7 separate regions of the Homo sapiens genome follow, and all the other regions are linked to region 2. The links are contacts of gene promoters, found by promoter capture Hi-C in blood cells and fetal thymus (Javierre and others, 2016). All regions are on one chromosome and are shown on one strand. The core of a region is centred on a gene start or on the middle of the fragment in contact, and the rest is flanking DNA. Distances in the headings are between cores, read along the strand shown.

Region 1 (3,165 bases), core at 276-2,775, 720 kb after region 2:
GTCTATTCCGTTTTTTCAATTATACCCTGAGATGAAAAATTCATGAACTAGGTAGAGATAAATTAAAGTATGTGTAAAACCTGTATACTAAAAGTGACATAACTGCTGAGATAAATTAAAGAAGAGCTAAATAAATGAAGTGATACTCCATGAGACAGGCCATGTTTATTGAAGACTCACTCTTAAGACAGCAACTCCTAAAGGACAGGTGCAGTGGCTCACGCCTATAATCCCAACACTTTGGGAGGCCGAGGAGGGTGGATCACTTGAGGTCAGGAATTCAAGACCAGCTTGGCCAACATGCCAAAACCTCGTCTCTACTAAAAATACAAAAATTAGACAGGCGTGGTGGTGGGTACCTGTAGTCCCAGCTACTCGGGAGGCTGAGGCAGGAGAATCACTGGAACCTGGGAGGCAGAGGTTGCAGTGAGCTGGGATGGTGCCACTGCACTCCAGCCTGGGCAACAAGTTGAGACTCCGTCTCAAAAAAACAAACAAACAAACAAAAAAAACAGCAACTCTTCCCAAAATCATTTACATATTCAGGCATTCTCAGTCAAAATCTGGGAATGCATTTTTCTTTTTTTTATTATTATTTTTTAGAGATGGGGTGTCACTCTGTGGCCCAGGCTGGAGTGCAAGTGGCATGATCACGGCTCACTGAAGCCTCAACCTCCTGGGCTCAAGCAATCCTCCCACCTCAGCCTCCTGAGAAGCTGGGACCACAGGTGCACACCACCACGCTTGGGTAATTTTATTTTACTTTTTTTTACAAACTGAGTCTTGCTATGTTGCCTAGGCTGGTCTCAAACTCCTGGCCTCAAGTGATCCTCCTGCCTCAACCTCCCAAAGTACTGGGACTACCAGTGTGAGCCACTGCGTCCAGCCTGGGCATGCATTTTTCTACAAACTGACAAACTAATCCTAAAATTCAGATGGAAATGCAAAGAACTCGCAACAAATAAAACTAAGAATGAGAAAGGTTGGGAAGCTTACAACACAGACTTTAATACATAATATAAAGTTATAATGAGCAAGACTGTGTGGTACTCACATAGAGTTCAATGGAAGAGAAATAGTGTCCCAGAAACAGACTTATACATCTACAGTCAATTAATTTTAGACAAACTAATTCTATAGATAAAAGAGTCTTTTCAACAAATGATGCTGGAACAACTGTATACCCACATGAGAGAGGTGTGGGAAGATGACCTCAAGCCTTCATGCCATACATACAAATTAACAGAAAATAGGTAATAGGCCTGAAACTATAAAGTCTTTACAGGAAAACATAAAGAACATCTTCACAACCTTGAGGTAGGCAAAATTTCCTTAGATAGGACACAAAAAAAGCAAAAACAATAAAATAAAATATTAATATGACTTCATCGAAATGTAAAACTTCAGTTCTTCAAGAGACATTATGAAAATAAAAAGGCAAGCCACTGTCAGGAAGAAACTATTTGAAATATGTGTATCTGACAAAAGAAAATATATTCAGAAAATATAAACAACTCTTGCAACTCAGTAAGACAAACAAAAAGTGGACAAAAATTTTAGACATTTTATAAAGAAGATATATGAATGATTAATAACCATAAGAAAAAAATGCTCAAAATCATTACTCAATGTGAAATGTAAATTGACATTGCAATGAGATACATCTACACACCCCTAAGAATAGCTACAATTTAAAAGACTGACGATACTAAGTGCTGGCAAGGATGAGGAGAAATTGGGACACACATATACTGCTGGAGGGAAAATAAAGTGGTCAAGCACTGTAGAAAACAGTTTGGCAGTTTCTACTTACCATACCACACAGCAATTCCATTTCTTGGTATCAACCCAAAAGAAATGAAAATCTATGTCCACAGAAAGATACAGCAGCTTTAATTAACCACATGAACCAAAAATGGAAACAACTCAAATTGCCAACATATGATCTAATAAATTATGGTACAGCTATACAAAGGAATAACATTCAACAATAAAAAGATTAACAACTGACATACAACATGGATGGATCTCAAAGGCATTGTTACATGAAGAAAGCTTTTACATAAAAGAAGCATATGATTCCAGTTACTGTAATGACAGCACATCAGTCATTGCCTGAGGCTGAAGGTGAGAAAGATTAGCTGGCATGGACACTATAGAACTTTTAAGAGTGAGGGATCTTAATTTTGGTGGTAATTATTCATGTGTATAAATTTGTCAAAACTCATCAAAATGTACTATTAAATGGGTGCATATTACTGTATGCTAACTACCTCAATAAAGTTGATTTAGAAAAGAACTCTGAACGTGGACTCCAAAGTTTCACATGGCCAGGGGCCTACTTGCCTTTCATCATCAGCTACTGTGCTTCCCAGTCTTTCTAGTTCTCTGGGCATTTATACTTGGTGTTTCCCACTTACACCTAATTAATGTCTACTCCCCTTAGACTCAGGTCAAGGTGAGAGGCGAATCCGGCTGGGCTTCTGGGTCGGGTGGGACTTGGAGAACTTTTCTGTCCAGCTAAAGGAGCGTAAACGCACCAATCAGCACTCTGTCTAGCTAAAGGTTTGTAAACACACCAATCAGCACTCTGTAAAAACGCACCAGTCAGTGCTCTGTGTCTAGCTAATGGTTTGTAAACACACCAAACAGCACTCTGTAAAAACAGGCCAATCAGCACTCTGTAAAATGGACCAATCAGCGCTCTGTAAAATGGACCAATCAGTGCTCTGTAAAATGGACCAATCAGCAGGGCGCAGGCTGGGCCAAATAAGGGAATAAAAGCTGGCCACCTAAGCCAGCAGCAGCAACCCGCTCGGGTCCTCTTCCACTCTGTGGAAGCTTTGTTCTTTTGCTCTTCACAGTAAATCTTGCTGTTGCTCACTCTTTGGGTCCGCACTACCTTTATGAGCTGTAACACTCACCGCGAAGGTCTGCAGCTTCACTCCTGAAGCCAGCAAGATCACGAACCCACCGGGAGGATCAAACAACTCCAGACACGCCACCTTTAAGAGCTGTAACACTCACTGCAAAGGTCTGCGGCTTCACTCTTGAAGTCAGTGAGACCATTAACCCACCAGAAGGAAGAAACTCCAGACACATCTGTACATCTGAAGGAACAAACTCTGGACACACCATCTTTAAGAACTGTAACACTCACCGCAA
Region 2 (2,968 bases), core at 397-2,896:
CAAAAGGCCACATACAGCGTGACTCCATTTATATGAAATGCCTACAATAGGCAAATTCACAGAAAGTACAAGATGAGTAGTTGTCAGGGGCTGAGGGAGGAATGGGAAGCAATTGTTTAAAACACACTACATGGTTTCTTTCTGGAGTGATGAAAATGTCCTGAAACTAGACAGTGGTGATGGCTGCACTACACTGTGAATATATTTAAACAAAAAACAAATACCTGAATTGTACACTTTAAAATGGTTAAAAACTTGAATTTTATCTCAAACAAAACAAAAATCAAGTGCCCTCAAATGTATATTTCTAAGTGCCTAAACTGAGAACGATCTCTACTTTCAAGAGGACTAACACTGAGCTATCCACCTGCAAGACTGTGAAGTTATCTCCTAGGGGCACATAGTACCCAAGACCTACCTTAAAAGACTTGTCACAAGATACCCAGATTAATACTGGAACACACAAACCTCATAGTTTTTCTTCATTTAAAGAAAAGATTTTGAGTTTAAAAAACAAAAACAAAACAAAACAAAAGCTTGGGACTCCCCAGTACTTGTTTTCATAAAGCAAATCTAGTTAATACACACCCAACACTTAACTGTGAATAACTGTCCCGTCTTCACCTCCCACTTACGCCAGGAAATGAGCAATACAAGTACTATCATTCCCATTTTCTAACTGAGCAAACTAAGTCTCCACAAAATTTAATTCTCCAACGTTCAGAGTTTACAGAGCTTTAACACAGGCCATTCGCTTTCTTACTATTAATTACAACTAACTTTCCAAGTTATTTATTTTAAAAATCACATACAGCAGATTGCTGTTTGCCAATCACTGACTTAAACACCTAGAAATCATATTTTTTAACAACCCTATGAAATGGATGCTACTGCGACACAGAGAAGCTAAACAACTTGCCCAGAGTAACACAGCTCCTCGTGTGTAGAGAAAACCTGACTAGGAGAATTCAAGTGCTAGCACTGAGAACTCACCTTCCAACCGCCCTCTACCAAGAACGACACTCATGTTTGCACCCAGCTTTGCTTGAATGAAGCTTCCTGTCCACTGGCTGGGAAACCAGGGCAGAAAGGGCCTGAGGAACACGCGCAAAGGGCCGCTCTCCCAGACCCACTCCCCGCACCGCCTGCACGGATAATCGCCGCACACCCCCGCTCGAGCCCAGCAGGCGAGTGGGGTGCGAGGTCGAGTGGAAGCGCTGGGGAGCCGACGGCGCAGCAAGGGGCGAGTGAGGTGTCCCCCGGGAAGGCGGCGCACTGACTGGCGCGGGACCGGGTGGCCGCAGGGCGGCTCAGCCCACGGAAACGGCGGTAGGGCGGGAGGCTGGCGCTGCAGCTCCAGCCGGGGGGCATAAGGAATATGGGGCCGGACCACTTACCTCTTCTGAAGCCATGGGGGCTGGGTCAGGCCGAAGTCCCGAGCTGCAGCCGCGCAGAAGGAGGAACAGGAAACCCCGCGCCGAGCCCTCAAACCGAGCGCAGACGCCTACCCGCACGAGTCGCGGCGCTGCAGCCTGCGCCCACACCGACCCTGCGCAAGATCGCGGCCCGCCTCCCGCACGCGACGGATCTCGAACCTTCGCGAGGCAGCCGCCGCCACCGCCCACCGCGAGCACGCACAGCCCGCCAAGCCTGGCTCCACCCACCCTTCCTCGCCTCGCCGAGCCTAGCCCCACCCCTCCCCGCCCCGCCGAGTCTGGCTCCGCCCGCCTGCCGAATCTCCTAGCAACGCTCAAGTCTCGCGAGCGAACCGGCAATCCGAGAAGAGTAATGTCTTGCTCTCCGCCCTGACAACTTTTATGTATTATAATTTGACCGCGCTGGGCCACGCTGCGCAGTCGCAGCTCGGAACCGCTGCGTTAACCCAGCCCCGGAAATAACGTACCGATCTTCGGAGTCCAAGTCGGAAGTTGACTAGAGAGTCACCTGCTTTCGTCCGCTCTAGGACACCAGACACACCAGGCCGCCATGTTGTGTAAGGTTAGTCTCTCAGCCTCCGCGAGAAGAAGGCGAAAAATGGGGAGGAGCAGCCTGGTTACTTTCAAACGAGAAAGAACGGATATGTTAAGCGTGGAGGGCTCCTAATGGTAGCGGTTTGATTTTCAGTGAGTTTGGCGCGGTGGAGACGTCACCGCGGTCTAACAGTTCCGACGTGGTGGCGTCATCACTGGCCGCCGTAGGAGGTGGAGCTACGTTGGCCTCGTGACCGGGCCCTGTAGCGGAAGCCCAGGTCAAGGCCCTAACAAAAGGGCCCGCCTATGGCCACAGTTTCAGGCCCTCCTTTCAGTCATGGACTGTTGAAGCACGATTTCCTGGTGCTTTCGCCCCTTTCACCGACCATTTCAAGAGTCCGTAGTTCTCGCCTGGGTTTGGATTCGGTATAAGTGAGCCTGTTTACCATCAAAGAAAATGGTGAAATGTCTTCTGGAGACGATGTTCTCTTCTGGTTCTAACCCTGTCACTCAGTGAGACCCCCAGAGAAGCCTAGTTTTCAGATTATTCTAGTCCTTGGCAGGCTCAAGATGTCAACAACACGGTTGGAAACAACCCCTGAGAGGTCACATAGCGCGCACTCAGCTTTACAGATCGTCCAAGGCAGCGACCCCTGAGAGGTCACATAGCGCGCACTCAGCTTTATAGATCGTCCAAGGCAGCAATTAGAATCAGCAACTCGGAGAGGAAAAAAAGCTGTTAGCGGAATGGAGGCTGACCATTATCTGTAGTAAAGAATCGGAAGTACAGTACAAAAATAAATTACCGAAACGCAACATGCGTGAATTTCACACAAAAAAATGAAGTTGAGGGAAAGAAGCCAGACATGGAAGAGTTCATATTGCGTGGTTCCATTTAAAAACTAGCCCATGGTGTTAATGAGCATAGTGGGGAGGACAATGACATGAAAGAGCCACCAGGGGGCTTTTGAGGTTCAGGTAATGTTTCTTGATTTGGA
Region 3 (3,159 bases), core at 595-3,094, 740 kb after region 2:
ATGGGTCATCCCACTAATCTATTCCCATTTTCAGGAAAGGGAGGAATGATATCCTCTAAGAGAAATTATTATAACATCTAAAATTCTTTATTTTGCTGTAAAAGTTCATAAACGTACTAATTCACATAAGAGAATAAAACATCCAAATCAGACTGACATCTAGGCAACTTCAAGATAGTAACTTGAGTTTTTACCTAAATAAAACTGTAACAACTTGCTAAGGCAAAAGTAAAAATAAGTACTAAGTAAATCCAGCAAAAGACCCTCAGAATGGTCTAACATCAAGTTAGAGCAGTCAAAAAATAATAAACAATTCAAATTCTACTGTCCATCAAATTTAGTGATGTCAACTCACACTAAAAAACTGTTTCATGAGAAGAAGAGAGTCCCTGGGTGATTTTTTCAGTACTCCTTGTCTAGGATATCTTTTCCTCAAGAAAATAACACAAGGAAAGGTACTATCAATCACCCATGCTACACAGTATGGTTCTTATCACTTCAGTTTCTCATTATATAGTTTGTGCTGCAAGCCGGCAAGCACAAATTGAAAACTGAAGCAAAATTGCTACCAAAAGAGGCACATCACTGAACTCTCCAAATGATCAAACTACATGATCTGATATGATCACTGTCATTTAGAAGTGATGTTTTTCTAATGTATATATAATGATTGTATCCCCCCAAATCAATGTGAGATAGAAGTGGCTCATGGAAATCCTTATTTTCCAACAGTGTTGGCCCATGTTACTCACTGCAAATTGAGTTGTGTGCTTATAACAACTCTAATCATTATATTCTGCTTGCTGTATCACTACTTCATTCTGGTTAGCACAAGTATTAATATGAGGGCAGACCCCTGAGAAGAGTGATAGGACAGACATAAAACCTGGTGCCAAAAATCGCTTCCTGATTACCCTTCCCCAAGGCCTGAAACTACCATTATTGGAACCTCTTCATGTTAAGGAATAATAAAGAGGCCCATTTTCTAAATGTATATGGTATTATTTGTCTTGAATCATTTTATCATGAAATAAGAAGTAATACTTGGCAAAAAAAAAAATCAACTAGACAGAGCACTAATGGCAAAGACTGAAAAAATTTCCCCTTCTCTCACCTTTGGAATATTGAGCATAGCAAACTATTCAAAGCATCCAAGTAGGTGCTAAGTAATAGTGCTAGTAATAGTGCATTTAGGTAACAGTGCTAGTAATAGTGTATTTTAAACACTATCAAGGCTTTAAAAATACATATCAATGTGTTAGTATGCAAGAAATCTTTTGCAATATTTCTGTATGTGGTGATACCAAAACCCATAATAATGGCAGCTAGTCAGAGAGAGAAATGATCACCATTTCTGCTTTGGGAACACCAGAAGAGCCTGACCTCATGTACACACACTTTAACATCTCAGCTGGAGACCCTCAATAAGTAAGCTTTGCCCTACCACTCCTCACACATTTCATATACAATGATCTTGCTTTCTCCTCTTAGTTGTTAATGTCAGCTTTCTCTTCTACAAATTGGCTTTTCTCCCAAGGCACTGAGGGTTTGAAATTTCTGAGCAATCACTTGAATGCCCTAACATCTAAGTTCGCACTTTTAAATTCTGCTGAAAAGATACCAAAGAATACCAATTCATTTATCTTCAAACTGGCTTAATTTTAAACCTAGTATATAATCAAGAATTAATTGGGTTTAGCCTTTAAGAGTACACAGTCAGAAATCAGATGACCCTGGTTTAAATCCTGGCTCTACCAGTTTCTGGCCAAGTAACCAAAGTTACTTAACCTGATTAAACCTCTGTTTCATCATCTATAAAATGGAGTAATAGGCCAGGCGTGGTGGCTTACACCTGTAATCCCAGCACTTTGGGAGGCTGAGGCGGGCAGATCACGAGGTCAGGAGTTCAAGACCAGCCTGACCAATATGGTGAAACCCCATCTTTACTAAACATACAAAAATTAGCCGGGTGTAGTGGCGCATGCCTATAGTCCCAGCTACTCAGGAGGCTGAGGCAGAAGAATTGCTTGAACCCGGGAGGCAGAGGTTGCAGTGAGCCAAGATCACACCACTGCACTCCAGCCTGGGTGACAGAGTGAGACTCTGTCTCAAAAAAAAAAAAAAATGCAGTAATAATAACAGTACCTTCCTCATATGTTAAGAAAAGTTGTTCAATGGCCACCAAATAGTAAGTGTTCATTAAATGTTGGCCATTATTATTGCTCTTTTATATCCAGTTATTAAATAAAGCTTAATATGTGATATCCAACATGGGTAATCAAGAAAAGGAAAAGAATATTAAAAGTTTTCATGACTTGAGAACAGTTTTCATACATTCTTTAAAATACATAGGATTTTATTGGTGCAATGTGCAGTTATTAATTCCATATTACAACAAATTTAGCCAATGCTCTAACTTTATAAACTTTTATATACTTTTTATTGATTTAGTCAAGTATTTAAAAAGAAGCAGTAGAGAGTAAGAATATGTGTTCTAGTACTAGATGTACTTAGTTAAAAAGTAATTTTATAGCCTTGGTCAAGTTATGTAACTTTTGTACCTCAGTTTCCTCAACTGAAAAATGAAGATAATAGTACCTATACCTCAGAAATACCACCTAGAACAGTGCCTGGCACTGAGAAAGTGCTAAGTAAGGAGTAAGTAGCTAAGTATAAAGCTCTGTATTCCAAGCACTATAGTAGATGCTGGGGATTCTGGGATAAACAACATAGTGCTTGTTATCAAAAGGGTCAAGACAGACAACTGCAGTATAATTTGCAAAATATCTAGATATAAACAACCCTTAAACCCTTGGATGCACACAGAAATGGCTTCTTTCATAATATATTTTTCAAAAAAAAAAACAGAATATTGGCCAGGCATGGTGGCTCACACTTGTAATCCCAGCACTTTGGGAGGCTGAGGCAAGAAGATCACTTGAAGCCAGGAGTTTGGGACCAGCCCAGACAACTAAGCGAGACCCCGTCTCTATGAAAGATAAATAAGACAACATAAAATTAGCCCAGAGTAGTGGTGGACACCTGTAGTCCCAGCTACTTGGGAGGCTGAGGCAGGAGGATAGCCTGACCCCAGGAGTTCAAGGCTGCAGTGAGCTATGATCACATCACTGCACTCCAGTCTGGGCAACACAGCGAGGT
Region 4 (3,195 bases), core at 35-2,534, 840 kb after region 2:
TACCACCCATTACTTTCTGCCTTTCATTATCACTGTTGTTTCCATATTTAATCCCCCACCTAAGCATAAAGTCCTCAGGGTCAAGGTCCATCTTTATTCAAACTGATTAACACAATCCCTTATACACACTAAGTGAGGTTAGGAAAGAAGCCCACCAGAAACAACTCCAGATTGAGTCCAGAGCCCTGGCTTTGCTAATAACTCACTATCTGACCTTGGCCTTGAGGCTCTTAGTATGTTCCTTCACTTACAAAGTTAAGAGGGTAGGCTAAACTAGTTGTATTTGTTGTTAAATGTAGGCTATAATCCATTAGCTGGGTGTAAAATTAATTTGGAAGTCAAAACCCAGCATTTTTAAAATGAAATGAAATAACAGAATATATCAATGTGTGTTATAAGCAGTGGGGTGCTATAAATGTTTAACAACTACCTATGAGGAGGGAAGCCCTAAGAATACCATTTGCTGAATTTCCTGGTGTAAATATTCCCACCATGACCAATTTTGAGCTACCAACATGATGTCACTGGACAAAGAGCTAGATAGGAAGAAATATGCACAACTGGTCTTGCAAGCCATTATAGCTAACTCAGTAGGGCCCTGAAAAGATAAATATTATTTCACCAAACTTTCAACTTTGTGTGTGTGTGCGCTTGCGGAATCAAGTAGTAAAATGTATTTTTTATTGTGGGTCACAGTCAAATGAGTTTAATAAATGTTCAGGTAAACAATCTCCTGGTGTCCTTCATGTATACTACATAATTTGATAAATCTTACTCTTGGTTACAGATGTCTCTTCACCACAATTCATATTTTTCTTCAAAAATGGGAGTAACAAACTGATATCACCAGAAGGCAAATTACACAGAGCAGGAATTTGGTTTATGGAATATCAGCCAAGTGCCAAGGTTTTTAGCATTTGTTCAGCCCTACATACCTGAAGGATATAACACACTCCTACTATCAATGGCTCACTTAGCAATGGGTTGGGGGGCAGGTAGGGGGTAAGAGGAGGAAATCCATAGTATAAAAAAAAAATCCAGATAATTCTAGTATTTGTGCTCATGTTCCCACCCCACTGAATACCCAGATACACAGAAAATTAGAGCAGTAAAAAGTAAATGTTCCATGCCTGATGTTTCCCAATCAAATTCCCTTGCATCCCTCAATGAGACTTCCATTACTAAGAATCACCTACTGGAACTAAGCTTTTACCATGGACTAGGGATGCATAGTTCTTGCTGAATTTAGAACAGGCAACAGGGAAAATAACACAGCAAACAGTTGTTAGGCTTCATATTCTGGGAAAATCAGCCTTTTATTAAAAAAAAAAACTGTCTTATTTTCCTCTTATTTAAGCTTACTAAACTGGGTGAGAATTTTCTTAAATATATTTTTGGCTGTACTATGTCTATCACAACACAGCCTGTAACCAGATTTTTCATGAGTATTTATAAAGAATTGTGTTGTTGTTGGGTTTTTTTTTTTTTTAAGCCCAACAGCACTGGCAAATGTTTTCTACTTTAAAAGCTATTTAGAAAATAAGAAGGCTCAGAATTTCAAGTATACTAATAATCTTAGCCCAAATCTAACTCTAAATCAACTGAATATATGCCTAGAACTTTCCCAGGAAAATCCCCAAAAAGTACACCAAAAAACACCAAAAGATAACAAAAAAGAGTTAGCATGCGCATAAACTTCGTATACCCAATTATGCCATCCCATCTGTTGAATAAGAGCAATATGGGAAGTAAACGAAGTATAAAAAGAAGATGTTCAGAGATGCAAGCTCTTCTTAATTCATTAACTCTTCCTTATTAGGGTCCACTGATGTTCACATACTTATACCCAATTCAAATACTGACTATAAAGTCAAAATTATTTCCCGTTCTGAAAGTCTAGGAGTCAAACAATGTCTTTCTCTATAATATCAGCATTAAAACTCTCCTTTAAAAATGAGTATGTTTTACCATAACTCAGGCTCAAGTCCGTACTTTCTCCGCCTCCACTGTTTGTAATGGCAAAATGCTCATCAGATCATCTCCACAAGAAACCCCTGAGCCATCTTTGAAATACCAGCACCTGGTGCGCTGCACCCACTAACTCATCATCTAGCATTAGGTATATCTCCCAATGCTATCCCTCCCCCCTCCCCCCTCCCCACCACAGTCCCCAGAGTGTGATATTCCCCTTCCTGTGTCCATGTGATCTCATTGTTCAATTCCCAGCATGGCACATGTATACATATGTAACTAACCTGCACAATGTGCACATGTACCCTAAAACTTAAAGTATAATTAAAAAAAAAAAAAAAAAAAAAAAAAACAGAAAGAGAAAAAAAAAAAAAAAGAAATACCAGCACCTGGAATAGCCTTGGGCTGCTGGTCATCCTCAGACTCAACGGCTGACCCATTTATATAAGTCAAGAGTTATAAAAATATAGAACTCATTAAAATTAAGACATAAGCAAGCTCTGTGCCTGGGAATCCCATAGGCTTACAGCAACAACTTCATTCTCCAAACCCCCTCTAACCAGTCATAATGATCCATACCCCACTTGAAGACAATGGTAGGTTGGAATGCAGGCCCACTTCTACACCTTCAATATAGGAAATTTTTGCTACTTAGCCACTACTCTCTTCAAAGTCAATCTCTTGAAGCCTAGCTATCTCCCACACATATTTTTACTTGGCACAACAGAATTCCTTCTTTTGATTACTCCAAAAGCATGGATAAAAGGACTTTCTGCTTCAATGCTGTATCATCTGAGAGTTCAAATAAATATACAATGGCTGAGCAAATTCAAGTTTGGGTTAAGGCAAAGAAAAAAATTCAAGTTTTTTAAAAGTCACAAATTTAGAACTGGAGAGCTGATCACATGAAAACTCCTGTTTCACATGCCTAATAAAATTCTTTCATTCAAAGGAAAAAAAAATCATAACTACCAGCGTAAAAAGAAAACATCTAAATCATGAAACAATTATCAAAGAAACAAAAATTCTCAGAACATCGCAACTGTAATATATAGAAATTCCCATCAAATAACTCAGGTGAAAAAAAAAAAAAATGGGACAAGCACCGTTGGCTCAGGCCTGTAATCCCAGCACTTCGAGAGGCTGAGGCGCAAGGACTGCCTGAGGCCAGGAGTTGGAGACTAGCCTGAGCAACATGGTGAGACCCTTGACTCTACAAAAATA
Region 5 (3,263 bases), core at 445-2,944, 780 kb after region 2:
CTTTGTCATAAAGTGCTCCAGACATATGATTCTGCAAAACAGCACAAAGCAGCAAAAACTCTAAGAAAGAAACCTGTCTTTCTAACACAGGGGTAGAAGGAAAATGGCCCAAGGAAGCCAGAGAGTGTGGGGAAATCTCAGAGAGGAGAGAGCTGAAGAAGATAATCCCCTAACTCTGCGTGTAAACTAGCAAACTGTGTATGCATGTGGAACAGACTGAAGAAGCACAGCAAAGGTTTTGAGAATTGAAAATACTTTGGAACCAGAAAGCAAGACAGATCTTGCAGTTTGGACACAACCAGGTGGAATGTCTGCTTTAAAAAAAAAAAAAAAAAAAAAGTCAACATTCTTCAGAGGATTTTAACAAGAAATAGTCTCAAAACATAAGATTCGAAAACTCTGGGAACAAGCCAATTACTCAACAAACATAAAAGGGTGATCTATTCTCAAGTGAAAAAATAATCCACAGACCAATCCCAAGATGTCCCAGTTGCTCCATAAATAATCCATAAAATAAACGTGAAAACACCTGTAATGAATAAAAATATCAAAACTATCCACAGAGAAACAAAAAAACTTTAAAAAACAATGTAAATTTAAAAACAGAAAAATACAATATCTAAAATTAAAAATTCATCAGACGATCTCAATAGCAGAATGGAGATTAACAAAGTAAAAAGTCAGTGAGCTTGAACACAGGGAAAACAATGAAAAGAGCCTAAGGAATTGTGAGAACGGTATGGAAATGTCTACCATTTTTGTCTACTGAGTCCCAGAAAAGAAAGAGATTAGTGTAGAAACAAAACAATTACCAAGAAATAATGGGTGAAAACTCCCAAATTTGGTTAAAGATATAAATTTACAGATTCAAGAATCTCAGTGATCCAAAAAAAAAAGATAAACTCAAAGAAAACCACACACAGATAATCAAACTGCTGAAAACAATGAAATAAAAGTACTGAAAGCAAAGAAAAATAACATATTACAAATAGGAGAACAATGATTCAAATCCCTTCAGATTTGTTATCAGAAACAATGGAGACAAGAAGACACTGGAAAAGCATTTTTAAAGTGCTCAAGGAAATATACGTATGGCTGTTGAAAGCAAAATTATTAGACTGGTAGGTTTTTCAATGTATGTATATGTAATACATGTCAATATCAGGAATGAGAGGATATTAATACACATCCTGCAGACATTAAAAGGATAATAAGAGAATATTACTCTATAACAGAGAAACAACTCTATCCCCATACTTAGGTGAAATTAACCAATTACTTGAAAGATGAAAACACCAAAGTACACTCAAGAAGAAATAGATAACCTAAATGGTCTTTTGCACTCAGATTTAAAATTTTTTTTTGAGATGGAGTCTCACTCTGCTGCCTAGGCTGGAGTGCAGTGGTGTAATCTTGGCTCACTGCAACCTCCGCCTCCTGGGTTCAAGCCATTCTCCTGCCCAGATTCTCAGCTGGGATTACAGGCATGAACCACCATGCCCGGCTAATTTTTGTATTTTAGTAGACACCGGGTGTCACCATGTTGGCCAGGCTGGTCTTGAACTCCTGACCTCAAGTAATCCACCCACCTTGGCCTCCCAAAGTGCTGGGATTACAGGTGTGAGCCACCATGCCCAGGCCAGACTTAAATTTTTCTATAATGATATGCAACTATCTTTTCCTTTTGTGATTTGGCTTTTCCTACCTTGACAATCACAAAAATATGCTCCATTGTTTTCTTCTTACAGGCTTATTTCTCACTTTAAATATCTGATTCACTAAAAATAATTTTTATGTACAACTAAGGAACCTAATTTTATTTTATTGCACTCAAAGATGCAACTGTCCCAACACTATTTACTGCATAGTTACCATTTCCCCCAGTGGTATGTGAAGCGAATTCTGTCATATACTGAAATCCTTTATATACATAGGTTTGTTTCTGGTACCCTGTTCTAGTGATTCACTTCTATAACAAGCCAATATCACATTGGTTTAATCACTGTAACTCTGTAGTCTATCTTAATACATAATATTCTTTTTAAAAATTTTCTTAGCTACCTGTGTACCTCTACTTGTCCAGATACATTTCAGAATGTTTATAAAAATAACTGAAAATTTGAAATTCCCACCCAAGTTACAGACTAATTTGGAGATAAGTTACATCTTTTCAAGGTTGACTCCTATCAATCAACATGGCATCTCTCCCCATTCATTCAGGTGTTCATTTCCTTCAATAACATTTTATAATTTTATTAAAATTTTACATAAATTTTTGTTTCTTCCTTGTTACCTATTATTTTTGTTGGTATTATGAATGGCAATTTTATTTTCTACTGTTGGTGCTAACCTTCCTAAAAGTCGTTAAATCTTTTTTTTTTTTTTTTTTTTGAGATGGAGTCTCACTCTGTTGCCCAGGTTGGAGTGCAGTGGCATGATCTCAGTTCATTGCAACCTCCACCTCCTGGGTTCAAGTGACTTTTCTGTCTCAGCCTCCTGAGCAGCTGGAATTTCAAGTGTTCACCACCCTGCCCAGCTAATTTTTTTTTTTTTTTTTTTTTTTTTTTTTAGACAGAGTCTCACTGTCACGCAGGCTGGAGTGCAATGGTGCAGTCTTGGCTCACTGCAACCTCTGCCTCCCAGGTTCAAGCGATTCTCTCGCCTCAGCCTCCTGAGTAGCTGGGACTACAGGCATGTGCTGCCACACCCAGTTAATTTTTGTATTTTTAGTAGAGACGGGGTTTCACTATATTAGCCAGGCTGGTCTGGAACTCCTGATCTCGTGACCTGCCCATCTTGGCCTCCCAAAGTGGTGGGATTACAGGCTTGAGCCACCCCGCCCAGCCATTTTTGTATTTTTAATAGAGACGGGGTTTTGCCATGTTGGCCAGGCTGGTCTCAAACTCCTGACTTCAAGTGATCTGCCCGCCTCACCCTCCCAAATTGCTGGGATTACAGGCATGAGCCACCATGCCTGGCAAAAAGTCTTTAAATCTAATAGCTTATCCATTCACTTTCTTAAATACTTTACCAATCATGAGAATTTTTTCACTTTTTTTCTAATCACACTTCATTTCTTTTTCCTGTCATCTTGCATTGGCTGGATTCTTTAGTACAACGTCAAAGAGCTATGGTGATAGCTATCATGCCCTAACTGCTCCTGTTTCAATATATCTTGATGGTAACGCATTTTAAATTTCAGCATAAAACATAAGACTTTGATAGATATTTGATTAAGCAAGTTTCCTTCTAAGTTTTCCAAG
Region 6 (2,960 bases), core at 107-2,606, 970 kb after region 2:
GCCACTGATCTGACAGGAGGCAGAGCTGAGGCGGTGATGCTCTCTTGCTAGCTGCTCATTTCCTGCTGTGTGTCCAGGTTCCTAACAGGGTACAGACCTGTACTGGTCCATGGACCAGACGTTAGGGACCCCTGCTTTAAGGTGAAGTGAGTCTTATGTAGGCAGCATATACTTTGGTCTTGTTTTTTGTTTGTTTTTAGAGATAGGGTCTCATTCTGTTGCCCAGGCTGGAGTATGGCAGCACAGTCATAGCTCACTGCAGCCTCCAACTCCTGGGCTCAAGTGATCCTCCCACCTCAGCTTGCTGAGTCACTGGGATTACAGGGGTGAGCCACTGTGCCAGCTCCAAGGGTCTTTTTTTTTTTTGAGATGAAGTTTCACTCTTGTCACCCAGGCTAAAGTGCAATGCACGATCTCGGCTCACTACAACCTCCGCCTCCTGGGTTCAAGTCATTCTCCTGCCTCAGCCTTCTGAGTAGCTGGGATTACAGGTGCCCACCACCATGCCTAGCTAAGTTTTTTTTTTTTTTTTTTTTTGAGATGGAGTTTCACTCTTGTTGCCCAGGCTGGAGTGCAATGGTGTGATCTCGGCTCACTGTAACCTCTGCCTCCTGGGTTTAAGCAATTCTCCTGTCTCAGCCTCCTAAGTAGCTAGGATTACAGGCGCCTGCCACCATGCCCGGCTAATTTTTGTATTTTTAGTACAGACAAGGTTTTGCCAAGTTTACCAGGCTGGTCTCGAACTCCTGACCTCAGGTGATCTGCATGCCTTGGCCTCCCAAAGTGCTGGGATTACACACCTGGCCTCTAAGGGTCTTGTTGTTGTTGTTTTTTTTTAATCTTTTCAGCCACTCTATGCCTTTTGATTAGATAATTTAATCCATTTACATTCAAAGTAATTACGTATAGGTAAGGACTTATAAGTGCCATTTGAAAAATTGTTTGCTGGGTTTTTTTTTCTTTTCTTTTTTCTATGTTTTTTTTTTTTTACTTATTATACTTTAAGTTTTAGGGTACATGTGCACAATGTGCAGGTTAGTTACATATGTATACATGTGCCATGCTGGTGCGCTGCACCCATTAACTCGTCATCTAGCATTAGGTATATCTCCCAGTGCTATCCCTCCCCCCTCCCCCCACCCCACAACAGTCCCCAGAGTGTGATGTTCCCCTTCCTGTGTCTATGTGTTCTCATTGTTCAGTTCCCACCTATGAGTGAGAATATGTGGTGTTTGGTTTTTTGTTCTTGCGATAGTTTACTGAGAATGATGATTTCCAATAAACTGGGTTTTTTTAAAATTATTGTTTTGTTATTCTGGTTGATTTGAAGTTCCTTGTTCCTTTCTTCCCCTCTCGTTTTCTTCCTTTGTGGTTTGATGATTTTCTATAATGGTATGATTTAAATTTTTTCTTATCCTTTGCATGCATATATATATGTGTATATATATATATATATATATGTATTTTGGTTTATTTTTAGACTAAGTCTCATTCTGTTGCTCAGCCTGGAGTGCAGTGGCATGATCTTGGCTCACCGCAACCTCCACCTCCCAGATTCAAGCGATTCTCCAGCCTCAGCCTCCCGAGTAGCTGGGACTACGGGCGTGCGCCACCATGCCTGGCTAATTTTTGTATTTTTAGTAGAGACAGAGTTTCACTATGTTGTCCAGGCTGGTCTTGAACTCCTGACCTCATGATCCGCCAGCCTCAGCCTCCCAAAGTGCTGGGATTACAGGCGTGAGTCACTGTGCCTGGCCTGCATACCTATTATGGGCTTTTGCTTTATGGTTACCCTGAGGCTTACATAAAACATCTTATACTTATCCCGGCCAGGCGTGGTGGTTCATGCCTATAATCCCAGCTACTCAGGGGGCTGAGGTAGGAGAATTGCTTGAACTAGGGAGGCAGAGGTTGCAGTGAGCTCCAGCTGCACTCCAGCCTGGGCAACAGAGCGAGATTCCATCTCAAAAACAAAACAAAAATCTTATACTTATCCATTTTACACCAATAATAACATGCTGCCATGTGGGATTACGTTTAAAAAACAAAAAGCCACCCAGACTGTGGCATTTGGTGTGATAGCCCTAGCAAACTAATAGTGAAAACAACAATATTCCAGTGAGTTTTGCCACTGGAAAAGTGGAGCTACTTTCTCTTAACCTAACTGCCTAGAGTGGACCACTTTGCTGAAAGTTGTTTGATATCTCTTTTGTAAAGGCATTCTGTTTATCATTGGCTTCAGATAAGTCTCTAAGGGTCAGCTGAAGTTCAGACAGCTCAATGTTGGGCTGGAGGCCTTTATGGAAGGCAGGCCAATTTAGAAGCAATTTCATGTAAGACTCAGAAACATCATTTTACTTAACTCTTTTGGAATCTCAAGTCTGCAGGAACCTAGCTCTTGAAATCTCAGAACTAAATTGGGCTATATTTGCCATGTGATTAACACCCTGAATCTACAGCAATCCGTTAGGCTTAATTTGCAGATGATGATTTGGGTCTGATTTTGGACTTGACTCCAAAGGTGTAGGGTAGGTCAGACACCATCGGTTTCCTCATATTTCTATAGTGTATTGCATGGGACATCTTCCTCTGCTTCTTATTTTTTAGAGTTTTATTTTTAATGAAATTTTAATAGGAGGGGTACAATATTGTGGACTGGGGAGGAAGTAGGAGGTCATGGAGAATCTTTGTATAAGAATAAGAGATGATAGTAAGGATGGAGAAGACAATTAACTTCCCACTCTTACTTTACCTAAAGCAGTTCAGAAAACCCAAGTGGCTCAGCTCCAGTACCCGCTATTTTGTGTGTGTGTGTTTGAGGATGTCATTCCCTCCCCTTACATAAACTATTTAGACTGGAGAGGTCTCAGGTCCCAGCTGTACTTTAAACCAGGTTTTTTAGTTAATCCAGACTCTACTCTCATACCTTTCAATTTCTCCTTCCTTATCCTTCTTCATCC
Region 7 (3,342 bases), core at 729-3,228, 990 kb after region 2:
GTGACCATCATATTACCTAACATCTCTGTTACAGTGTTCTTGGCCCTAAAATTAATAATGAGACCAAATAGGCTCATTGCGAGGACGAAGTGTTTGCATGTGATCCGCATAAAAGACTTCCTGGCACATAGAGTGTACTCAAAAATAGTTAAAGATAGAAACAAAAATCTGTTTGTTTTTGAGACTGAGTCTTGCTCTGTGGCCCAGGCTATAGTGCAGTGGCACGATCTCGGCTCACTGCAACCTCTGCCTCCCGGGTTCAAGTGATTCTCGTGCCTCAGCCTTCCAAGTAGCTGAGACTACAGACGCGTGCCACCATACCCAGCTAATTTTTTGTGTTTTTGGTAGTGACGGGTTCACCATGTTGGCCGGGCTGGTCTTGAACTCCTAACCTCAAGTGATCTGCCCACCTTGGCCTCCCAAAATGCCGGGATTACAGACATGAGCCACCATGCCTGGCCCACTTTTAAGGAGCTAATATTTCAGTATCGATGGGTATACACTGTAACAAAATAAATATGAAACACAGATGTTGGATGAGAAGTATTATTGAGAAAAATTAATCAGGAAAGAGATGGGAAGCATGCAGTTTAACATGTGGTTGGATAGCAGAGGGCTGGGGAGGGATTGAGATTGGGGCATCTATTTGAAATAAGGTGATCAGGGAAGGCCTTCTCTGAAGGAATTCATATATTAATGCCTATACAGAAGTGGGGAGAAGGTTCAGGGTTGGAGGAAGAGTAGGACAAACTATGTTCTTAACCAGGGTCCCTGTTTTTACCAAGCAATAAATAGACTTATCTGTTTATTGTGCAATCCACAGTGGTTAGACTTATCTCAACCTTTCATTTCCTCTTCCCTATAACATGCACACTATACAAACCTAAGCGTGAATTTAATCCCTGAAAGATCATCATTACATATTTTGGAGGAAGTGTCATATTTGATTCTGATACAGCAGCAGCCAGTCAGTAGGTTCTCTAACATTAGCAGCTACTTGGGAATCAGCAAAACATCTCTTTTTTTTTTTTTTTTTTTTTTCAGACAAAGTCTCACTCTGTTGCCTAGGCTGGAGTGCAGTGGTACGATCTTGGCTCACTGCAACCTCCGCCTCCTGGGTTTGAGTGATTCTCCTGCCTCAGCCTCCCAAGTAGCTGGGATTACCGGTGCCCGCCACCACGCCTGGCTAATTTTTGTGTATTTAGTAGAGATGGCGTTTCGCCATGTTGGTCAGGCTGGTCTCAAACTCCTGACCTCAGGTGATCTGCTGGCCTTGGCCTCCCAGAGTGCTGGGATTACAGGTGTGAGTCACCACACCTGGCCAGAACATCCCCTTTTACAATTTAATTTCTGTTTCAAACCGCTTTATATAAAGATAAAATAATAATACAGTATAAACAAGATACATTGTGGCTATAGGATTCTGTGTTTGGAGTTCATGTAGCAATTTTTTCGTTCTTTTAAACCCTTCAAAATGGAATTTTGCTTGCAATAGTAGTTGAGAAATAATTCTAAAATGGAAAATGAATCAGCTCCTCCTCTTCCTCCTTCTCCCTCCTCCTCCCTTCCCCTCTTCTGCTTCTTCCTCTGCTGCTGCTTCTGCTTCCTTCTTTCTTCTTTTCTAAGCACTGTTTTTCAAGTATCTGCAATTAAAAGTCTCTGTGACATTGTTTTCTGGAAATAGTTTGAATTCTAGGAGGCATATTTCAAAACAAAACAAAGTAATGAAATGTCCTTAAGACCTAAGAGATTATGGGGAAATACATTTTAAAAATATTGATGTTATTGCTATTATTAAATATACTAGGTTTTTAATGCAAATAAAATTTCTAGGTCAGAATATATAATTAGATATGTACCTGTTGTGAATACATCTACATGTTTCTAGAATTAGTCAGAACATGATGGCAGCCACCAAATGCCACAAGGAAGTCTAAAGCACAGGATCATAGGGAAAAAGAAATAGAAGCAAGTAATAGGAGACTATTAGTGTGTGACACATATGCTGTGTGATGCATACACTGTTTTCTTGAGTAAAGAGGAGATTTTTGTCTACTTTTTTTATTGACACTCATTTTTGTTCCTTCCAGTTCAACATGAGAAATCTGCTGCATTCAAAATCTACAAGTCATCATTGCTCCAAAAATAAGTTCACAAAGGGTAGCTTCCTAACTGTGATCATTTTAACTGGAGTGCTTTGTAACAGTTTAAAATGTAGTAAATGCTGGGAAAAAAAATCTAACAAAAATAATGTTGTGTGGGCCGGACGCGGTGGCTCACACCTGACATCCTACTGATCTGGGAGGCTGAGGTAGGAGGATCACTTGAGGTCAGGAGTTTAAGACCAGCCTGGGCAATATAGCCCATGTCTACAAAAATTGTAAAAAGTTGCCCGGCATGGTGGCCCATGCTCATAGTCCCAGCTCCTCAGGAGGCTGAGGTGGGAGGGTCGTTTGAACCCAGGGGTTTGAGGCTGCAGTGAGCCATGATCATGCCACTGCACTCCAGCCTCGGTGATAAAGCAAGACCCTGACTCAAATAACAACAACAACAAAACATTGCATGAAAGAAGCCAAGTACAAAAGAATACATACTGATGATTCCGTTATATAGATTTTTTTTTTTTTTGAGATGGAGTCTCGCTCTGTCGCCCAGGCTGGAGTGCAGTGGAGTGATCTCGGCTCACTGCAAGCTCCGCCTCCCGGGTTCACGCCATTCTCCTGCCTCAGCCTCCCGAGTAGCTGGGACTACAGGCGCCCGCCACCACGCCCGGCTAATTTTTTTGTATTTTTAGTAGAGATGGTGTTTCCCCGTGTTAGCCAGGATGGTCTCAATTTCCTGACCTCGTGATCTGCCTGCCTTGGCCTCCCAAAGTGCTGGGATTACAGGCGTGAGCCACTGCGCCTGGCCTGTTATATAGAATTTTAAACCGGGCAAAACTAACCTATTGTGTTAGGAGTTGGGATAGTAGTGATATTTGGGGAAGAATAAAGGAGTAATCATTGGGAGGGATAGTGAGGGGGGGCCTTTTGAGATGCTGATAATGTATGTCTTAAGTATGCAGGTATGCTCACTTTGTGATAATTCGTTGAACTGAACACTCTTGATCTGTATGTATGTTATACTTCATCTTAAAATATCAGTAAGGCGTCTTAAGATATATGATTCATTTTATTTTAGTTCCCTTCTCATTTCTCAGTGAAATATTTTAATAAAATCTTCAAGACAGAGTTATCCTTTTGGTTCTGTTCAAAAGGAATACAGTAGTTGCTGCTACAACCTAATTTTTTCTTTTTAATAAACAAGTAGGTTTAAACAGTTCCAGAGTTCCTACTTAAAACC

Evidence for each region. Contacts are between HindIII fragments. The CHiCAGO score rates a contact against its expected background, and 5 or more counts as called.
Region 1: a contact is called between a fragment that was not itself captured here and the fragment with the promoter of CACYBP in region 2, in 1 of 17 cell types (M1 macrophages). The highest score is 5.4, in M1 macrophages.
Region 3: a fragment that was not itself captured here is called in contact with the fragment with the promoter of CACYBP in region 2 in 15 of 17 cell types (naive B cells, total B cells, total CD8 T cells and 12 more); the score reaches 14.8 in naive B cells.
Region 4: a fragment that was not itself captured here is called in contact with the fragment with the promoter of CACYBP in region 2 in 3 of 17 cell types (fetal thymus, total CD8 T cells and monocytes); the score reaches 9.4 in fetal thymus.
Region 5: a contact is called between a fragment that was not itself captured here and the fragment with the promoter of CACYBP in region 2, in 2 of 17 cell types (M2 macrophages and naive B cells). The highest score is 6.2, in M2 macrophages.
Region 6: a contact is called between a fragment that was not itself captured here and the fragment with the promoter of CACYBP in region 2, in 1 of 17 cell types (neutrophils). The highest score is 6.5, in neutrophils.
Region 7: a contact is called between a fragment that was not itself captured here and the fragment with the promoter of CACYBP in region 2, in 1 of 17 cell types (monocytes). The highest score is 5.6, in monocytes.

The regions. Positions count from the first base shown.
Region 1 is chr1:174,280,844-174,284,008 of GRCh38, reverse strand. The region is part of intron 10 of RABGAP1L (RAB GTPase activating protein 1 like); the gene reads right to left. Among named protein-coding and RNA genes, the nearest start is that of RABGAP1L, 120 kb to the right of the region's middle. The HindIII fragment of the contact is 1,064 bases long and covers 994-2,057 here.
Region 2 is chr1:174,998,625-175,001,592 of GRCh38, reverse strand. CACYBP (calcyclin binding protein) reads right to left here and starts at 1,646. Exons shown (of 6, transcript NM_014412.3): 1 at 1,398-1,646. The coding sequence starts at 1,412. LOC105371622 (a long non-coding RNA gene) reads left to right here and starts at 1,947. Exons shown (of 2, transcript NR_188647.1): 1 at 1,947-1,998. RefSeq lists a silencer at 1,626-1,745 and enhancers at 1,776-2,285, 1,837-2,373, 2,316-2,525. The HindIII fragment of the contact is 3,791 bases long and covers 1,058-2,968 here.
Region 3 is chr1:174,258,804-174,261,962 of GRCh38, reverse strand. The region is part of intron 7 of RABGAP1L (RAB GTPase activating protein 1 like); the gene reads right to left. Among named protein-coding and RNA genes, the nearest start is that of RABGAP1L, 100 kb to the right of the region's middle. The HindIII fragment of the contact is 817 bases long and covers 1,436-2,252 here.
Region 4 is chr1:174,161,906-174,165,100 of GRCh38, reverse strand. All of the region lies in intron 1 of RABGAP1L (RAB GTPase activating protein 1 like), which reads right to left. Among named protein-coding and RNA genes, the nearest start is that of RABGAP1L, 4.0 kb to the right of the region's middle. The HindIII fragment of the contact is 151 bases long and covers 1,209-1,359 here.
Region 5 is chr1:174,222,571-174,225,833 of GRCh38, reverse strand. The region is part of intron 3 of RABGAP1L (RAB GTPase activating protein 1 like); the gene reads right to left. Among named protein-coding and RNA genes, the nearest start is that of RABGAP1L, 65 kb to the right of the region's middle. The HindIII fragment of the contact is 5,756 bases long and covers 1-3,263 here.
Region 6 is chr1:174,027,974-174,030,933 of GRCh38, reverse strand. No RefSeq gene overlaps it. Among named protein-coding and RNA genes, the nearest start is that of RC3H1-DT, 7.0 kb to the right of the region's middle. The HindIII fragment of the contact is 8,475 bases long and covers 1-2,960 here.
Region 7 is chr1:174,006,676-174,010,017 of GRCh38, reverse strand. All of the region lies in intron 1 of RC3H1 (ring finger and CCCH-type domains 1), which reads left to right. Among named protein-coding and RNA genes, the nearest start is that of RC3H1, 14 kb to the left of the region's middle. The HindIII fragment of the contact is 5,748 bases long and covers 1-3,342 here.